Regions from separate parts of the Homo sapiens genome. Here all the other regions are linked to region 1. Evidence: promoter capture Hi-C in 16 types of primary human blood cells and fetal thymus (Javierre and others, 2016). All regions are on one chromosome and are shown on one strand. Each heading gives the region's core, a stretch centred on a gene start or on the middle of the fragment in contact. The rest is flanking DNA. Distances are from core to core; before and after follow the strand shown. Region 1 holds the start of CUX2 (cut like homeobox 2). Region 2 overlaps CUX2 (cut like homeobox 2). Region 3 overlaps CUX2 (cut like homeobox 2).

Region 1 (3,434 bases), core at 562-3,061:
CCCTCTCTCTCTCTCTCTCTGCCTCCATAACCCCCACTCTTCCAGAAAGGCCACTTTAGCATCATTTAAGCCGGCAGGCACAGCTCGCAGCCCTGCCCGTCTCAGTTGGCCACCAAACTGTAGCCCCAACTCGAGTGCGGACCCGGAATTGCAAGGCACTCGGCAGTTATTAACTGCATGCCTCAGTGCCCCGATTTTCTCCCCAGCTCAATGGCTTTGGGGGAGGGGGAGAGCGAGGAGTGGGGCGTTCGGAAGGACGGGGACTGGGAAGCGGCCAGGACGGGGAGAAGGCGCGGGTGCTGGAACCACTTATCAGAAGAAACTTAACGAGATTTGCCGGCGGATTAAAAAAAAAAAAAAAAGTGGGTCCCTTTTTATCTCCAGACTGATGATCTCGCGTCTTCCGCGAATGTCACGGTCAAGGCAGGATGCTCTAACCGCCCTGTTATCCGCACCATTTTCCCGCCCCTGATCCCCGCCGCACCCGCCGAGACTTTGCGAGACTCCAAGGCTGGGGGGCCTTGCCAGGCGCGTCCGGGGCACTCCGGGAAAGAACAGAGGCCGGAGCCGCGCCTCCACGGTGCGTTCTCTGAGATTCCACCTCCCAGCCCCGGCTCCTACGGGGTCCGCAGAGAACACCTCCAAATCTAGGGGAGGCACACAGACTCCCACAAAGGGAGGATGGGGAGAAAGTGATGGGGTTTCGAAGAGTCGCCCTAGGGAAGGAGAGAGAAAGAGCAGGGAAGAGAGGAAAGAAACAGAAGAAAAGCAGAGACGGGAGAGAGGAGACGAGGGGAGCAGCGGGGAGAAACGCAGGAGGCAGAACAAGCAAGGAAATCTCTCATTTAAAAGTTCCCTTGGGCCCGAGGGCTGGGAGTCACCTGCTCTGCGCCGCTCCCGGCTCTCCACCGCCCTGGAGGCAGGAGCGCAAACTTGCGAGCGCCCGGGCCCACCTCCACCGCCCGTCTGCATCTAGACTTGGGAAGGGGATGGAAGGGGCGGGGGGGTAAAGGCAAGAAGCAAGACGAACCCCAAGACCCCGGCCCGAGGAGAAGAGGTCTGCCGGCGCTTGCGGCCAGTCCGGCGGCGGCGGCTCTGGCGGCGGCGGCGGCGGCCCCCGGGTGGCGGCGCGTCCGGGCTGCGCAGCCAGGCGGGCGGCGAAGGCTGAGGTGCCGGCGAGCGGCGGGGCGCGGAGCCGCCTCCTCGCCAACCCCGGCTCCCTCCTCCTCTCTCCTCCTCCTCCTCCTCTCCTCCTCCTCCTCCCTGCCCGCCAGCTCCCTCCCTCCCTCGCCGGAGCCCCAGCCGGGTGCGGACTGGCAAGCGGCGCGCTCCGCGGCCTCCCCGGGCGCCGCGAAGTTGGGAGGCGCGCAAAGTGCGGCTCAGGGGGGACCGCCGGGGGTTCCCGCCAGCAGCCCCCTGCCCGAGGCCGTAGCCCCTGCCTTCCCCGCTCCTCGCCCGGCCGCCTGGCCGCTCGGCCGCTCCGCCGACCGAGGGCTCACTAGCGCTTCTCCATGGTCGCGGCAGCTAATCGATGACTGAACCGAACAAAGAGCAGCGGCGAGATCAATTCCTAATACCTATCGATGGGCAGCGGGCGGCCGAGCCCCGGCGAGCCCCGGCAGCCGCCGCCCGCCGCCCCAGGGCGTCCGCCTGCCCGCCCGGGGACCTCCCCAATGCGCCCAGGGCGCGCCCGGGGGCTCCTCACGGCCGCGCGGCCGGCGCTGCCCGCACTAACCTGGAGTCGCCGTAGATCAAATCGCTTCCAATATTGAAACATCGATCCCACATTGGCGGCCATCTTGGGGGCTATCGAGACGCGCACACACAAGAGTTTGGCTTTTCTCAATGGCTGCACTCAATATCCGGGCTGGACTCCCCCCAGCCCCGGGGCCGCCGCCGGCCGCCCGGGCCCTGAGCGCCGCGGCCCGGGGCCCCTCGGGCGCCCTCCGGCCTCCTGCCACCCGCTGCCCCTCGCCGCCGCCGCGCCGCCGCCGCCGCCGCCGCCAACGGGCCCGGGAGCCGTGCGCCCCCCCGACCCCCGGAGGGCGCGGGCGGAGCGCGCCGGGCGGGGAGCTCGGCGCCCGCCCGGGGGAGGCAGCCGGGGATGGGGTGGGAGGGGAGGGGTTGGGGGGAGGCAGCCTCTCCGAGAGGCGCCGGCGCCGCCGCTGCCCTGCCTGCCGCCGGCTCCCGGGCCCGCGGAGCGCTCGCTGCATCTCCCCCCCAAGTCCGGGGTCGGTGTGCCGCGCGATTGCACTTGACTTTGGCTTTTTGCAAACTTATCAATACTGACGTAACGTGCTGATCAATGCAAAGGGAAGTTTGGGAGGGGGCGCTGCGGGAGGCGGGCGCGCGGGGCGCCTACCCCCGCTTGCACCTGTCTACCCCCAGCTCCCGGCATTGCACGCTTAAAAAAAAGTTAATAGTTTGAAATGCATTTTTTTTTCTTTTGCAATCGGAGCACACACAACACGTGCCTCGGGCTGCCGCCGCTCCATCGCCAGATATGCTTGGGATCCGAGGGTCGCAGCCAGCACTTGGGGCTGCGTAGACGCGCCGGCCGGAGGGAGGGTGGGAGCCGCCCGGGGGCGCCACTGAGTCGTGGGAAATGTCACCACCACCGCCCACAGTTTCCGCGCCATTATATTATTATTATTGGCGGGGAGGGGGGCTTCGTCTGAGTAGTAGCTCAGGGTTCTTTACGGGCGGGGGCCGAGGGCGGGGCCTCAGGTCCTTTGGAATAGGGATTTCTGTTGTTATTATCTGGGGGGTCTTTAACCCAATTATAGGGACTCCCCCACAGCTTTGCAAGGTGAAACCCTTTTACTGTGATGATGATTATTGGAGGTTTTGTTATTTGGTTCTGAACCAAACCTCTGGAGGGCCTTTTCCCCCAGTGGGCTTGTTTTATTGTTATGACTGTTGAGGGTGCCCTACCCCTGCTGTGGGGGCTCCGGATCCTTAAAAACCTCGGAGGTTTCTGCTGTTGTTATCATCATTATTATCCGGGGCTCCGTTCTTTGCAACATGACATTCCTTTATTGTGATTGTCTTTGGGGAGAGGGTCTTCAGCATGGCTAGAGGGAGGTTCCGGTCCTTTGCAATTCTTCGGACTCTTGACAACCGGGGTGACTGGATTTCTTGTTTTACATTTTTCTGTCTGCTTTTTTGTTTGTTTGTTTGTTTGTTTGTTTGTTTGTTTTTGCCTCTGTGCAAGCTCGAGGTCCTCTGTTTCCACTTCCCCTGGAGGTGAGATGTCACCTCCAGGGGGAACTCATACTCCCAGCCCCCTCCATCACCAACCCCCTTGCCTATCCCTGCCACCACCCTTAAAGGTGAGGTCACCCTTCCTCTCTGGCTTATTCCCCTGATACATAGCACCGCACCCTCTTCCCCACTCAAAAAAAGGGGACATGTTTTTCCTTTTTCTCTGATCA
Region 2 (3,434 bases), core at 611-3,110, 200 kb before region 1:
AAACTTGGCCTCCCAGGCTCAAGCGATCCTCCTACCTCAGCCTCCCAAGTAGCTAGGACTACAGGCACATGTCACCACACCCAACTAATTTTTGTATTTTTTGTAGAGATGAGGTCTCATCATGTTGCCAAGGCTGGTCTCAAACTCCTGGACTCAAGTGATCTGCCTGCCTTGGCCTCCCAAAGTGCTGGATAACAGGCATGAGCCACTGCACCCAGCCGCTTTTGCCGCTTTTAGGAGGCAACATTTCTCAGACAATTATTTTTGAAATCCTCATGGAAAAGAATACTAAAACGCAGATTGATAACTCAAAGCTGCTAGTGCAGTGGCAGAGTTTGAACCCAGGTCTCCCCCTATTATATTGAACATAAAATTCCTATTGCCTCTCGATGTATTATTTATTTCTTTTTCTTGTCTTCTGGGCATTTCTCTTGAACCAGTGCCAATCAGGCCTCAGCCTGTGGTCCTGAAGCCTCCTGTAGACTCTCTCTCTCCCTGTCTCACCCCAGGGCACGGGGTTCAGAGCTGGACCTGACACTCCATGTGACCTGAGCATGATTATCCACCTTGCAAGCAGATCTGCTCTGTGTAACTGAGGCCCCTGCGCTGATCGTCCCATCTCCTACCTGCCTGGTCTTTACGCCTCAGTCACTCATCTCTACAACAGGCATAATAATAACCCCTATCCCAGGGGCTTGTGACAATGATTTCTAAAGTCAGTATGTGTAGCAAGCTTAGCAGAGAGCCTGATATATACTGAGACCCAGGAGATCTGGCTGCTGTGGCTACTGATGTTCCTAGGAACAGTATTCTTGGTCTGCAGCGTGTTTGAGGAATCTGTTGGTTCAGCACGAGCCCTTTCTTAGCCCAGTGTTTGGTCTCAATGGGAAAAATGATGGTGATAACAAGGATCATTTCTTGAGCATCTACTATGTGCTAGGCATAGTGTCATGGAATCCTCCAACAACAACCCTATCAGGGAAGGACAAATACTATCCCCCCTTTTCCAGATAGGAAAGATGAGGCTCAAGGAGGGGAGATGACTTGCCTAAGGTCATATGGCTGACGAGAGGCAGACCTGGGGCCGTGCCAGGTCCCACTGGCTCCTGGAGGATTCCCAGACTGAATCTCACAGGTTGGGTATCCAACAAAGGGGCTTGTTTCCCTGAAGCCAGGTCCTCTTCTGCTAATGGTGTCATGTCCCACTGGCCCCCAAAACCTGAGCCCCAGACCCTCTGTCTCCACCTGCCACATCAACCTGGATCCCCACTTCCCAACTCTTTCAAACCTGTCTCCACTTTGCTGCTCCTCTGTCGCTGTCCCAGGCCAGGTTATCATTAGTGCTCACCTCATTCTTTTTTTTTTTTGAGATGGAGTCTTACTCTGTTGCCTGGGCTAGAGTGCAGTGGCGCGATCTCAGCTCACTGCAATCTCTGCCTCCAGAGTTCAAGCAATTCTCCTGCCTCAGCCTCCTGAGTAGCTGGGATTACAGGCACATACCACCATGCCTGGCTAATTTTTGTATTTTTAGTACAGATGGGGTTTTACCATGTTGATCAGGCTGGTCTCGAACTCCCGACCTCATGATCCACCAGCCTCAGCCTCCCAAAGTGCTGGGATTACAGGCATGAGCCACTGTGCCTGGCCGCTCGTCTCATTCTTAAGTGCTCCAAAGCACAACCCAACTCTGAGTCAGCCCCCTCCTGCCTGTACACCTCCAGAGAGATCTTTCTGGAACTTGGTTTCCGGTCATCCTTCCTTATATATCCAAAAAGCTTCTGTGGTACCTCCCTCTGCCCACAGACAAACTGCAGACTTAACTTGGCATTCAGGACCCTGGTGTCCTGCCCATGTGTGTTTCCTGGCCTTGTCCTCTCCCCCAGCCCCGCCTCCCAGCACTGCTCACTAAATAGCCATCCGGGAATAATTATTCATTTTAAGCTTTCTTTGTGCTAGTATCATGCTGAACACTTGATATGCATTACCAGCTCACTCAACCTCTTGACAAACCTATGTACTAGGTACCGTTTTATTGATGAGAAAACTGAGGGTCAGAAAGAGAGGAAGTGGGCTGGGGACAGTGGCTCATGCCTGTAATTCCAGCACTTTGGGAGGCTGAGATGGGGGCATCACTTGAGGTCAGGAGTTCCAGACCAGCCTGGCCAAAATGGCCAAACCCCATCTTTACTAAAAATACAAAAATTAGCTGGGCGTGGTGGTGTGTGCCTGTAGTCCCAGCTACTCGGGAGGCTAAGGTGGGAGGACTGTTTGAGCCTGGGAGGCAGAGGTTGCAGTAAGCTGAGATCACGCCACTGCACTCTAGCCTGGGTGACAGAGGGAGACTCTGTCTCAGAAAAAAAAAAAAAAAAAAGAAAGGGGAAGTGGCTTGCCTCAGATCACCTCACCGGTGTTCAAACTGGTCTTGAACCCAGGTCTGCCTGATGCCAAGACCTGTGCTCACCACCACTCTTCATTCCCCATGTTCCATCCTGCCCAATCTTCCTAATCTCAGCTGGGACCTCACTTCCTCCAGAAGTCTTCTCTGATTGCCTGCCCAAAAAATAACCACTCTCATTGGTACACCTGGGACATTTGTTCCTACTGCACACTGGCTTTTTTTTAAGTGGACCTTGGGCATGGGATCCCAATGGTGGCTCAGCCTCCTTGCTGAACAGAGTTCATCTCTTTCTCTAGCCAGCTCAGCACAGGGAAGAATGCATAGTAGGAGCTTTATAACATCTGCCAAATTGTTAACAGTCCCTCCTTGCTCCTGCTTTGCTGCTCCCTGAATTTGGCAGGCCTCTTGGGTTTCATTCCCATTCACCTGTCCAAAATGTACCACTGTGTGCAAGGCTGTGTATTCAGGGCTCTGTCCTATTCCCTGACAGTGAGTGAGGTGCTCTATCTGTGAGGGAGTCCACAGGGCAGCAGACAGGGTTATGTGCTAACTTAATTCTGTTTTTTTACCCACTCTTGGGCATATAATGTTAGACTATAGCCTTGAAATTGGGTATGGTTTTGTAACAGAGTTCTGGACAAATGAATGTGGGCAGAAATGATGTGACCACTTCCAGTTTTGGTCCCTGAGAACCTCCTAGGAGGGCCATCATGTTTTCCTCTTTTCCCACCTACCAGATGATGGTAGACGCCTGGATCCCTGAATGACTGCATGGATCAGAGCCTCCCCCACCACAACTTCTATCAACCAGCGCTAGACTGTGATGTAACCTCATCTGTGTTTGAAGTTGTTACAACAGAAACGAGCCCATTTTGACTAATGCAGACAGGCCTGGGTTCAAATTCTAGCTCTTCAACTTCTCAGTATGTGATCTTGGTGTCTCAATCAGAGTATCAGTTTCCCCTTTGTAAAAGAAACACAATGTTCTCAGGATTCTCCAGAATATTCCACAACAGCCCAGATGTCGGATAACCAG
Region 3 (3,434 bases), core at 254-2,753, 180 kb before region 1:
CAACTATGACTTACTTACACTTAAAGGTTCATAAATACGCCTTTTAAGATATAGATGGCTTTTTAATTTCAGTAGATTTTGGAAAAATGAAGGTGCCAATAAGAAGTAAGCTGACCTTTTGTGTATCTCGCAGTAAATCATTTAAGGTTCACTTCAAGTCTAAGAAATATTTCATTGAAGACTCCTGGATTCAGAAGAAATGGATTGGAAGGTGCTTTGCTGGCTTATATGCAAGGAAGGTATCAGACCAGGTTTTTATAGGATGTACCAGCGAGGGAAAAAGAGAGAGAGATGGAAGGGGGGATGCTTCGGCTCACACACATCACAGACAATGTCTGCTGGTCGTGCATGTATATTTGATCACCCCTCTTGAAGCTTTCTTCACTTTAATGGTGGCAGTTTCACAAGGGGAGTACAATTCACCATGAGTTGTCATGGATTTCATTTGCATAATTCAAGAAATGCTCTGTTTATGTGGTCGGCTGCTTCCTTGCACCATCCCGAGATGGGCTTTTTTTCTGGACCATAACTCGAGGAGCATTTCTGTATATATCATCCGATTATATTTGCAGCAATCAAGCCCCATAATTTCCTAAATCCGGTGATGCAATAAATTTCTGCAATCAGATTTATTAAAAACACACACGCAGATGCGGGAGTGTATTTCTAGGGTGAACTCTTTAATCTAACATATGTATGATGAGGCCCGGCACCGTGTTGAAAGACCCCATTTGTCATCACTAATACACATTCCTCTTGCACACACAATGAAACACTTTTGCCATTAGATAATGAAATAAAAGTACTATTAACCCACTGCAAATTCTTTTCCCTCTAAGAGACGAAATGCATGGTAATTGTCTTATATCATGTCTGAGAGTCAGTAAATCTGCTCAATAGCAGCTCACCAGAGCACCATAAACCTGGCACCCCAAGCTGGGATGAGTGTCCCTGACCTATGGATTTCTTTGTAGAAATCCAAGAAGGAACTTCTATTTCTGGAGAAATGTCTAACTTCTTTAGAAAATTATGAGACTAGAAGGGAGAAGGTAGAGGCACCAAAGTAGCTTTGAAATAGAGGCAAGGGCCAGGTGCAGTGGCTCATGCCTGTAATCTCAGCACTTTGGGAGGCCAAGAGTTTGAGACCAGCCTGGGCAACATAGTGAGGCCTCCTCTCTACAAAAAATAGAACAATTACCTATAGTCCAAGCTACTTGGGAGGCTGAGGTGGGAGGACTGCTTGAGCTCAGGAGGTCAAGGCTGCAGTGAGCTGTGATGGTGCCACTGCATTCCAGCCTGGGTGACAGAGAGAGACCCTGTCTCTATTTTGGTGGGGGAGCGGAAACAGGTGCTCTCCAAGGTGCTGAAACCAATTCTTGCCGAAGCACAGGGTACTCCCACTTGAAAGTACATGGGGGCTTCCAGTTTAAAAGCCCGGTTTTTATCAGGATTAAGCCAGGTGAGGAACAAGGTGTTATGAGCAAAAAGGGGGAATTCTGGTTCATCATCACTTAAAACTAATCACAGTTTCTAATACAGAAACTACAACTGACCACAACCGAAATATCCAGTGACAGGAGAGATCAGTGTTTGCAGCAATAGACAAAGGTAGACTGGCGCGGCCAGGTGGACAGAATCTCACTTGGCAGGAGAGAAAAAAACTGGAGGGCCAGGGTCAATTTGAGTTGCAGCAGCGTACTCCCAGCTCTTCTTAGTTTTTCTCATCTCTCTTGAAGACAAAGATGTGATTTTCACATTGCTACAGGACAAACAGAACTGGGACATGGGTTTACAGCTCTCTATCTTGGATTATTGTGTGTCTGACACTTTTTTTTTTTTTTTTGAGACGGAGTCTCACTCTGTCGCCCAGGCTGGGGTGCAGTGGCGCCATCTCAGCTCACTGCAAGCTCCGCCTCCCAGGTTCACGGCATTCTCCTGCCTCCCAGCCTCCCGAGTAGCTGTGACTACAAGCACCCACCACCAAGCCTGGCTAAGTTTTTGTATTTTTAGTAGAGACAGGGTTTCACCGTGTTAGCCAGGATAGTCTCGATCTCCTGACCTCATGATCCACCCACCTCGGCCTCCCAAAATTCTGGGATTACAGGCGTGAGCCACCACACCCGGCCGTGTCTGACACTATGTTCTTATTGCAGGGACACTGGTGCCTTCCCACAATGCAGCAACCAATATACCTGGTGGGGGTGAACTTTGCCTCTCATTAAAAACATCCAGCCCAGGTTCTGAAAGGAAATTGCAGAGCAGGATAAGTCCAACCACCTGATGTGTCCTCACAGACAATTATGCCTGACTCCCTCCACCTGCACCTCCCAGGCTGCTGGTGGGTGCAAATCTGACAGGCAGGATGTCTGCTGTGTCCACACTGCAGAGAGAACAGAGCCAGGGAAGGCAGGGGGATATCACCAGTCCCCTCACCCTGACCCCACTGCAAGCCCAGCCCTTGGTGTCTTTCCTCGAGCAGACGAAGTCACTGACATCCACGTTCTTCTCAATTTTGCCTAAATCTATGCTTGTCCTTCAACCCTGAATTCTTGCCACAGTTCACTGGTAAACACACTAACACCAATAATAATAATAGTAAATACTCATAACTACCATTTATGGAAAGCTTACATGTACCAGGCACTATGCTAAGCTCCTAACATACATCATCTCATGGAACAAACACATTAATGTGTCTTGTCTGTATGGTGATTCAAACAGGGGCTTGGAAATATACTACAGTCAATTCTAATAACTGAGGTGTGGATTATCTCCTTGGTGGATTATAAAGGCATATTTTTTAATGCCCTTCTCTTCAGCGGGCTTCTGCTCTGCGTCTCCATCAGCTGGGGGGTGTTCAGGGCATTTGTTTTAAATGATATGGATGTGTAAAGCTTCAAGTGTTCAATAAATGTTGTCTTTTTTTTTTTTTGAGACAGGGTCTCACTCTTGTCACCTAGGCTGGAGTGCAGTAGTGCAGTCACAGCTCACTGCAGCCTCGACCTCCCAGGCTCAGGCGATCCTTCCACCTCAGCCTCCCTAGTAGCTGTGACTATAGGCATGTGCCATCATGCCTAGCTAATTTTTGCATTTTTTTGGGGTAGAGACAGGGTTTCACCATGTTGCCAGGCTGGTCTCAAACTCCTAGACTCAAGCAATCCACCTGCTGTGGCCTCCCAAAGTGTTGGGATTACAGGTGTGAGCCACTGTGCCTGGCCTTGGCTGATATTAATCTTATGTTTAGATAAACTGACAGCTAAGAAAACACCCCACCAGATCAATGATTCCAAGAATTTTGGATTTCACAGCTCAGTAAAAATTCTGTTTTAAAATGAAAGGAAGACCGGTAGAGTATTGCCAAATGTTACTGTATCAAGCAAAGACATTAAAAACCACTCCCTCCCACCCTAAAAGAAAGGATATTTGAATATCAG

Evidence for each region. The method cuts DNA at HindIII sites, captures the fragments that hold promoters and counts their contacts. A CHiCAGO score of 5 or more calls a contact.
Region 2: a fragment that was not itself captured here is called in contact with the fragment with the promoter of CUX2 in region 1 in 2 of 17 cell types (M1 macrophages and total CD8 T cells); the score reaches 8.0 in M1 macrophages.
Region 3: a contact is called between a fragment that was not itself captured here and the fragment with the promoter of CUX2 in region 1, in 5 of 17 cell types (M2 macrophages, endothelial precursors, M1 macrophages and 2 more). The highest score is 6.3, in M2 macrophages.

What each region holds. Positions count from the first base shown.
Region 1 is chr12:111,032,542-111,035,975 of GRCh38, reverse strand. It overlaps CUX2 (cut like homeobox 2), which reads right to left and starts at 1,811. Exons shown (of 22, transcript NM_015267.4): 1 at 1,736-1,811. The coding sequence starts at 1,798. The HindIII fragment of the contact is 8,699 bases long and covers 1-3,434 here.
Region 2 is chr12:111,233,654-111,237,087 of GRCh38, reverse strand. All of the region lies in intron 3 of CUX2 (cut like homeobox 2), which reads right to left. Among named protein-coding and RNA genes, the nearest start is that of MIR6760, 69 kb to the left of the region's middle. The HindIII fragment of the contact is 166 bases long and covers 1,778-1,943 here.
Region 3 is chr12:111,210,296-111,213,729 of GRCh38, reverse strand. All of the region lies in intron 1 of CUX2 (cut like homeobox 2), which reads right to left. Among named protein-coding and RNA genes, the nearest start is that of MIR6760, 92 kb to the left of the region's middle. The HindIII fragment of the contact is 2,251 bases long and covers 378-2,628 here.